Linked DNA regions of Homo sapiens: region 2 is linked to region 1. Evidence: promoter capture Hi-C in human tissues and cell types (Jung and others, 2019). All regions are on one chromosome and are shown on one strand. Each heading gives the region's core, a stretch centred on a gene start or on the middle of the fragment in contact. The rest is flanking DNA. Distances are from core to core; before and after follow the strand shown.

Region 1 (4,642 bases), core at 1,753-4,252:
TTACCCATAGAATATTTGGCCTAAATATCTTAGGACAAAAGCTCAATATATAAAAACAGATAATACCAGAGTTTTCCAGTTAAGTAGGGATGAGAGATCCAGAGTTGTTCTTCCACATTGCCCCCAACCAGTAATCCCTGAGAAGGTTCTACCAGACCTTCATTTGAAAACTACAATATTTTAATTGTTGTTGTTTTGTTTTTTTCAGATGGAGTCTTGCTCTGCTGCCCAGGCTGCAGCACAGTGGCATGATCACGGCTCACTGCAACCTCTGCCTCCTGAGTTCAAACAATTCTCCTGCCTCAGCCTCCCGAGTAACCGGGATTACAGACAGGCACACGCCACCATGCCCGGCTAATTTTTGTATTTTTAGTAAAGATGGGGTTTTGCCATGTTGACCAGGCTGGTCTCGAACTCCTGACCTCAGGTGATCCATCCGCCACAATCTCCCAAAGTGCTGGAATTATAGGTGTGAGCCACCTTTTCTTCTTAGCCTGGCCTTTTTTTTTTTTTTTTTTTTTTAAGACAGTCTCACTCTGTTGCCCAGGCTGCAGTGCGATGGTGCGACCGTGGCTCATGGCAGCCTCGACCTCCTGGGCTCAACCGATCCATTCACCTCAGCCTCCTGAGTAGCTGGGACTACAGGCACACACCACTGCGCCCAGCTAATTTTTTTTTATAGAGATAGGTCTCACCACATTGCCCAGGCTGGTCTCAAACCCATGGGCTCAAGCAATCCTCCCACTCTGGCCTCCCAAAGTGTTGGGATTACAGGCGCATATTTCAATTTTAAGATGCACATGGTTTTCATATTTTAACATCTCTGAAATCAGGATGCATGTTTCAGTCACTGGCATCTTGGTATTATGTCATAAGCAATTTTTTTTTTTTTTTTGAGACAGGGTCTTGCTCTGTCACCCAGGCTGAATGCAGTGGCACAATCACAGCTTACTGCAGCCTCAACCTCCCAGGCTTAAGCAATCCTCTGGCCTCAGCCTCCTGAGTGGCTAGGACTACAGGCACATGCCATCATGCCCGGCTAATTTTTAACTTTTGTAGGGTCTCACTATGTTACCCAGGTTGGTCCCGAACTCCTGAGCTCAAGCGATCCTCCAGCCTCAGCCTCCTGAAGTGCTGGAATTACAGGCATGAGCCACCATGCCCGGCCTGTCACATTTTTTCTTAATATATACAATAAGTGATATGTCCCAATTAATAAGTGTCTTAGATTAGATGAAATCTGAAAGTAACTCCTCAGTTGGCCTACAGTAATCTTCAGAGTGACTTTTCCAGTCTTATTTCCTACCCCCAACACACATAACACAGAAAGTACATCCTATCACAAAAATGACTTACTCCTTTCCCTTATCACCATACTTTCAGGCCTTTGTGCCTTTGCACATGTTCCTTCTTTCTGTCCCTCCCATTTATTCCTCAAAATCCTATCACCTCCTCTGGGAAGCCTGTCCTGAATCCCTCTGCTCTTCTGGCAGTTAATTAATCCCTCTCTTTGGCTGGAGACTCATAACTCTGTAATGTGACTGCTACTATTAATACTTACATCTATTGCTTTGCTTTGTCTTCCCTCTAGACTTCAGCACAGAAACTGGATCATATTTATGTTTGAAGCTCGAGCACTTAGGATATATAAGACACAATAAACATACAATGAAAGAACTACTGAGAACATTAAGTCAGGGGATGCTTACTGTTTGAGTACATCTTACCTTTTCTGTAGGATAGGCACCAGCTTGAACTTTTTGTGTCAGTGATTTCACTTGTGCAGTTACAGCCATCACCTGAAATTAGCCCAAATAAAACAAGTGATTAGATTATATCAAATTATGTCTGCAAACTGTGAAGAGCAAAAGCTAAACAATGCCACCTAAAAATTATCTGAAACACTGTCTAAAGTATAGTACTATCTTCTCACTTCTCGGAAAGCATAGGAGAGATGGTTCTTCAAAAAGTTTAAAAAAAAAAAAACTTTCCACTTCTTAAAGAAGAGACCATCTTTTACTGAACCACAGGGAGGAGAAAAGGACTGAGAGAGTAGTGACTGAAGCACTGTAATTTTGTTTGTACTAGTTGAACTTACAATGCATAGAACTACATAACTCCCCGACTTATGACTTAATTTCCACTTTACGAGGGTGTAAAAGAAATATGCATTCGGTAGAAACCGTCCTTTTCTCGTGATGCTGGGCAGCGGCATCAAGCCTAAATTTCGACTTATGAGGTTTTCGAATTACAATGGGTTTATCAGGCCATAACCTCCATCGTTAAGTCGAGAAGCATCTGTATATAAGTGTGTATTACCTGGGCACCCAAAGGGCAAGTCATGTTACCATTCCAAGCACTGGTTTCCTTAGCTATATGAATAAAGGAAAACTATTCATATAATTTCTTTTTGGAGTTTCTTGTATTCCCTTGGGTGCAGAATCAATTACTTAGAATTCTGGCGTGAAAAGGTTTTGATTACATCATTTTACTCTAAGGTTTTTGGAAGCATTCACGTATCTCAATCACCAAAGTTTTGAGGTGAAGTACACAAACTCAAAGCCAATCCGTGACTAATTTATTCCAGAGGCGACACTACTCACTTGCTCCTGGAGATTTTTCAGAAGTGTCACGGCACTTGGCAGGTCGGACTCCAGCACCCCCTACAGAAGGGAGAGGAGGCGTAAAGAAAAGTCATTCTTTCCTCAGGATTATAGGAAAGTGGAACGTCTAGGGTGGGAAACTGCCCTCTCTCCGTCAGACACCCAGACTCGGGGCCTTCACACTCGGGTTCACAGACTCGCCTTAAAGCCAGCCCCTTGGGTTACCGGACAGGAACGGTAACTCTAGGGAGGCCGCCTCCCTGAAGCAACTTTCATCACCACCCTTCCCTGGTACCAACAGTTTGCCTCCAGCCGCTGAAGGCAAAGGACAACTCCACAATAGCTACGCGAGGAAGAAACCACACCAAACTCACCAGCGCCGCCATCTTCGCAAAGCCCACCCCTTCCGGTGTCGTACTTCCTGAGCGCTAAGGGCGACTTGATAGATTTGATAGACAACTGCCGCTTGCAAATCTAAGCCAATACGAATAAGGGCTTTCTCACTTCCGCCCCCAACAGGATAAACGAGAGGAGGAGTCTGATCTGGCCAATGGAATAAAGGAACTGGCTAAATTCGTCAGACTCAGAAAGAGTCGTCAGGACGAAAAAAAGCACTTGGCAAAGAGCGTGTGATTGGTAGACTGAGTAAAATGATTGACGGCAAGCCAATAAGAGACAGTCAAATAATTGATTGACAGTTGGAAGGACCAATAGAAAAAAGGAATTAGCAGAGCGAACTTAGCGCGTATTGGCTCCCGTCTGCCGCAGCACCCAGAGTCTTTTTTCACGGCACTTTTCTTGTAGTGCGTGAACCGGCCGCTAGGTGATGGGCCTTGGCTTGGCTTTGCGGTGTCGACATTGCAGAGCCGCCATTGCTGGCTGCTCATCCAACGGCCACCGCGCCAAATGCCTTACAGACCCGGTGGCCCTGGAATCGATTCTGTAACACTACTCCTTGTGTGACCGTGGACAAGTCACTCGGTCTCTGAGCCTTCTTCATCTGTAAATAAGAGAGCGAGGCTAGAGAAGCCCAGAGCCAGAGTTTAGAAACCGAGTGCGAGGACACCTGCCCTCTTGGTGTGCACTGTGGAGCGCTGAGAAACGGCTCCAATAACGCCCCGACACTCTTCGCTCCTACCAGTTTGGGGACATGAAAAGAATACGTTTTACAAATTGGGGAACGGTTCATATTTACATGACTTACCGCGGTCACACAGGTCTTCAGCAGAACTTGGTTCAAACTCTGGCAGTGCATGTTTCAGTATAACCTGCCTCATCATTACCCAGTGCTTTCAGATGTGTTCTCTCACTCTGGTTTTTCACAAGCTGGTGAAGTAGGTTGGACGGATACTCATTGTTCCCATCCCATGCCTTAGGAAATAAAGCACCGAAAGGGTGAATGATAGTGTATAATTTTTTGTTCACAACTCGTCCAACAGAGCTGGGTCTAGAAATCAGATCTTACCGACTTGAAGCTGTCTTTTGGAATTAAGAATAACACCTGTATCTGGGCAGGTGAGGTAAGGAAATCCTGGTATCTAGATCTTGCTGGATTCAAGAAGGCAGGAGGGTGTTCAGTCCCCACTCCTCTAACATTTAATTTGCTGCTTCAGGCCCACTGTGGAAGCTCAGGATGCTGTTGCAGCATACTTAGTCAATTATCCAGTAGCTTTTGTAATGTTTTATCAAGATTTGTATTATGAAAAGTTTCTATTTCTACATAAATTTTCGGACCTGTCTAATTAGATCAGCAATAAACTTTTCCTTTTCGGGGAATTTGAAATTTAGTTTGTTCATATGCTTTATGATAGCAATGAGAAAACAAATTGCACTGCCATATTTTGGGTTTTTTTGAGACCGAGTCTCGCTCTGTTGCCCAAGCTGGAGTGCAGTGGCGCGATCTCGGCTCACTGCAACCTCCGCCTCCCGGGTTCAAGCGATTCTCCTGTCTCGCCCTCCCGAGTAGCTGGGACTACAGGCACTTGCCACCACGCCCGGCTGATTTTTTTTTTTTTTTTTTTTTTTTTAGTAGAGACAGG
Region 2 (4,313 bases), core at 332-2,831, 370 kb after region 1:
AAGACAGGATCCTGAGCAGGCTCACCTCTCAGTCTCAGGGATCTGGAGATCTGCAGCCTGCCATGACCATTCCAAGACCACCACCATCAGAGTTACTTAGTGTGCTTAACGATGTAGATTCTTGAGCTCCTCTCCCTGCTAAAATTTATTAAATCAGAGACTGGGGGTGAAGGGGCAGAACTCTATTCTAGCCAGCTGCCTAGATAACACAAAGACAGACCAAAGAGATTCATTCTCCCCTACTCCTCATACCCAATTTCCTACTGTTCCAGCCCCTCTGCTAATGCAACATTTCACTCCCTGCCAGATTCCTGACACCCATCTTCGCGGTTATGCCTTGTGGCCGGAGCAGGGTCCCCCACAACTGGTCCAGCCAGATGGGCCTGGGGTCCAAAACACTGATTTTCTCCTGTATGTGCGAGTTGCTCACACTTCCAAGTGCCACCAAGAGGTGAAGTTCAAATCAAATTTCCTTTCCCTGCTGTCTCTCTCAATCTTAAATCTCATGAGGAGGGTTAGGGAGCATAAAAGCAGTTTTGTTTTGTTTTGTTTTGTTTTATTTTGCTTTTGTTTTCAGACAGTCTCACTCTGTTGCCCAGGCTGGAGTACAGCGGCCCAATCACAGCTCACCGCAGCCTTGACCTCCTGGGCTCAGGTGATCCTCCCATCTCAGCCTCCTGAGTAGCTAGGATTACAGGCATGCACCACCATGTCCGGCTAATTTTTTGTATTTTTTTTTGTAGAGACGGGGTTTTGTCATGTTGCCCAGGCTGTGTCTCAAACTCTTGGGCTCAAGCAATCTGCCCACCTTGGCTTCCCAAAGTATCAGGATTACAGGCGTGAGCCACCATGCCCAGCCAAAAGCAGTTTTTATTAAGTTGTGCTTATTTGGGATAACTTAGGGAATGCTAGTAACGTTTGGGTAAAGGCTACCCCCACCCACAGCCATCCCTTGATACCACTCCTGCAGAGTTCTGCAGAGTCCCCTGGTCCTCCATTTTCAGAGGACTTCTTCTACTTGTGCTACCCTATTTTTCTCCTTTCTGGCCCTACCCTGTCCTGGCCCATCCACAGCCCTCTGTCATAGCCTATGCTGCCTGCTGCCAGCTGGACTCAGAAGACAGGCCCCTCGCTGGTACCATTGTCTACTGTGCCCAACATCTCACCAGCCCCAGCCTCAGCCACAGTGACATCGTCATGGTGACTGCTGCATGATGAATAGGGAGAAGCAAACAGGTTGCAGGGTAGGGGGCCAGGTTACTCAGTTTCCCATTAAGTCAAAGAACCCACAGAGGATGGAATAGAAGGTGCCTCAAACTCTAGGAAGAGCTGATTGGGCAGAGGGGTTATAGAGTGTTTGGTCAATCCTGCTGCAAATTCGGCCCCCTTACTGGGCTGTCATTTGTCCTTAGGCCACATTACATGAATTGCTCCATGCCTTGGGTTTCTCTGGACAGCTCTTCAAGAAATGGCGAGACTGCCCCTCAGGATTCAGTGGTAAATGAGAGGAATGAGGTTAAGGACTTTCCACCATCAACCAGAGGAAATTCACTATCTCATAACGTCCTTCCTTCTAATTTTACTTCACCCTTCCTAAGTTTTCCTCTCCTCGTACTGCCTTCTTCCCTTTCTGCAGTTAGAGAGAACTGTTCTACAAGGCAACTAGTGACAAGGCAAGATGAGTGGGGACAACTGCTTCTCACCACCCCAGCTGTTAGCCTCAGCCTGGCCAAACACTTGGGAGTGTCGGGGGCTTCCCTGGGTGTTCCCTTGGAAGAAGAGGTGAGAATGAGAACACCTTGGGGTGATGGAAGAAAGGAGTAGCCAGCTAACAACCAGCCATCTGCCACCTCCTCCAGGAGGGCCTTCTGTCCTCGCACTGGGAGGCCAGACTACTCCAGGGTTCTTTAATGACTGCTACCTTTGATGGAGCCCAGCGCACTCGACTCGACCCAATCACCCTCGCTGCCTTCAAAGACTCAGGCTGGTACCAGGTCAACCACAGCGCTGCAGAGGAGCTGTTGTGGGGCCAGGGTGAGGAATAAGGGAGACCTGCAGAGAGGCACTCATGACCCAAGTCAGCTCTGGGGGAAGTGGGAGGCTGGAGGGGTGTCTGTTGCTGATGTATAATCGAAGCTGTGAGGATAGCTGGTGCTGAAGGATGTTTGGGCTTCATTTGCTGAGGGCTCTCTTTCCTTCTCATCTGTCAAGCAGGATCTGGCCCAGAATTTGGCTTGGTGACCACATGTGGGACTGGCTCCTCAGACTTCTTCTGTACTGGCAGGTGTGTGTGCTGAGTGGTTAGGGGACTGTATGGCTGCCAGTGATTCTAGTGTCACTCTACCATCCATTCCACACAGTGGGCTGGGCTGCCACTACCTGCACCTGGACAAGGGAAGCTGCTCCTCAGACCCCATGCTGGAAGGCTGCCGCATGTACAAGCCCTTAGCCAATGGGGTGAGTAGATAAGAGAGCAGACAATGAAACTGAGTGGGTCTGGAAGGCAGTCAACTTCAAAGGCATCAGAACAAACACTATTCTACTTCTGACCTGCCCTTCAGAGTGAATGCTGGAAGAAGGAAAACGGATTCCCTGCTGGGGTGGATAATCCCCATGGGGAGATCTACCATCCCCAGAGCCGTTGCTTCTTTGCCAACCTCACTTCACAGCTGCTCCCTGGGGATAAGCCCAGGCATCCTTCTCTTACCCCACACCTCAAGGAAGCAGAGCTCATGGGCCGCTGCTACTTACATCAATGCACAGGGAGGGGAGCTTACAAGGTGCAGGTGGAGGGCTCGCCTTGGGTCCCATGCCTTCCTGGAAAGGTTATACAGGTGGGTACCATAAGAGTAGTAGTTGCAGCATACTGGCAAAAAGAAGTCGGGAAATACTTGTATGGTGGTACTGTCCAACCTGTTTTGATGTGCATACAGTTTTCCTAAGTACCCACTGAGTCCATGACTCTGATCTAGAATATACATTTTCCTTAGAAGGAAGACTTGAACAGGTAAGGCAAAACCATATCCTGCTACCTATTTCCTTGCAGATACCTGGGTACTATGGTCTTCTCTTCTGTCCCCGGGGTCGGCTGTGTCAGACTAATGAAGATATCAATGCTGTTACTTCCCCACCTGTGAGTCTTTCAACCCCAGATCCACTATTCCAGCTCTCTTTAGAATTAGCTGGGCCTCCAGGACACTCTCTGGGGAAGGAACAGCAAGAAGGGCTAGCTGAAGCAGTACTGGAGGCTTTGGCGAGCAAAGGCGGCACTGGCAGGTAAAAGCTTGAGTATTTATACAATGGGCCAAGGAGAATCCCTAAGTCCTTTACTTTATGACTCTCCTCTGAAGACTTGTTCATCCCACTCTTAAGCCTGCATCTGTTTCATGAGATATACTCTGCCAGGAACTATATCTCTATTAAAAGATTCAAATGTCCATTTAGGTGCTATTTCCATGGCCCATCAATTACCACTAGCTTGGTGTTTACTGTGCATATGTGGAAGTCCCCTGGCTGCCAAGGGCCTTCAGTTGCTACACTGCACAAGGCCCTGACTCTGACTCTCCAGAAAAAACCCCTAGAAGTGTATCATGGAGGAGCCAACTTTACCACACAACCCAGCAAGTAAGATATTCCAAGTACTTTCCTTTCAAATCCATGGAGTCCGGATGTTTGAAATTAAATTTATTAAGCACTCACTCACGTGTATATTGTCCTAGACAGGGTTGCGTTTCAGAGAACAAAGATCCCTAACACGATCATCCAGTCCCGTCACTACCTGACTCCCTCCTCCCATACAATAACACATTCCCCCATCTCTAGGACATAGGGATCTTAGTCCCCTCCCCCCACCTTTTTCTTCTTCTTTTTTGAGACAGGGTCTCGCTCTGTCACCCAGGCTGGAATGCAGTGGGGTGATCTCAGCTCACTGTGGCCTCGACCTCCCTAGGCTCAAGTGATTCCCCCACCTCAGCTTCCCAAGTAGCTGGGACTACAGGTGCACACCACCATGCCAGCTAATTTTTGTATTTTTGATAGAGACAGTTTCACCATGTTGCCCAGGCTTGTCTCCAACTCCTGAGCTAAAGCAACCCACCGGCCTCTGCCTCCCAAAGTGCTGGGAGCCACTGCCACCACTCCCAGCCCCCTTCCTTTCTTAAGCACTGTTAGGGATTGTGTCTAGCTACCTAAAGAACATAGACTGACTCTTCCCTTAAGCCACTTCCCTTGCTGCCAAGTTAGGTCTTCTTCCAATAATATAAGATGCTAGAAGACTTAGATCTTGATCTTATTTCTACTTTAAGGTTCGATAG

What was found. The method cuts DNA at HindIII sites, captures the fragments that hold promoters and counts their contacts. A contact is called where the count stands out against the background at its distance.
Region 2: a contact is called between a fragment that was not itself captured here and the fragment with the promoter of NGDN in region 1, in 1 of the 25 tissues and cell types used here (spleen).

The regions. Positions count from the first base shown.
Region 1 is chr14:23,468,063-23,472,704 of GRCh38, reverse strand. NGDN (neuroguidin) reads right to left here and starts at 3,002. Exons shown (of 11, transcript NM_001042635.2): 1 at 2,978-3,002; 2 at 2,604-2,663; 3 at 1,728-1,799. The coding sequence starts at 2,989. RefSeq lists an enhancer at 2,299-3,239 and a silencer at 3,326-3,375. The HindIII fragment of the contact is 24,550 bases long and covers 1-4,642 here.
Region 2 is chr14:23,099,813-23,104,125 of GRCh38, reverse strand. CIROP (ciliated left-right organizer metallopeptidase) reads left to right here. Exons shown (of 16, transcript NM_001354640.2): 4 at 308-451; 5 at 578-655; 6 at 744-839; 7 at 1,075-1,200; 8 at 1,413-1,497; 9 at 1,637-1,782; 10 at 1,860-2,034; 11 at 2,215-2,284; 12 at 2,361-2,457; 13 at 2,562-2,834; 14 at 3,047-3,276; 15 at 3,445-3,624. C14orf119 (chromosome 14 open reading frame 119) reads right to left here. Exons shown (of 2, transcript NM_017924.4): 2 at 3,670-4,313. Among named protein-coding and RNA genes, the nearest start is that of CIROP, 3.0 kb to the left of the region's middle. The HindIII fragment of the contact is 8,875 bases long and covers 1-4,313 here.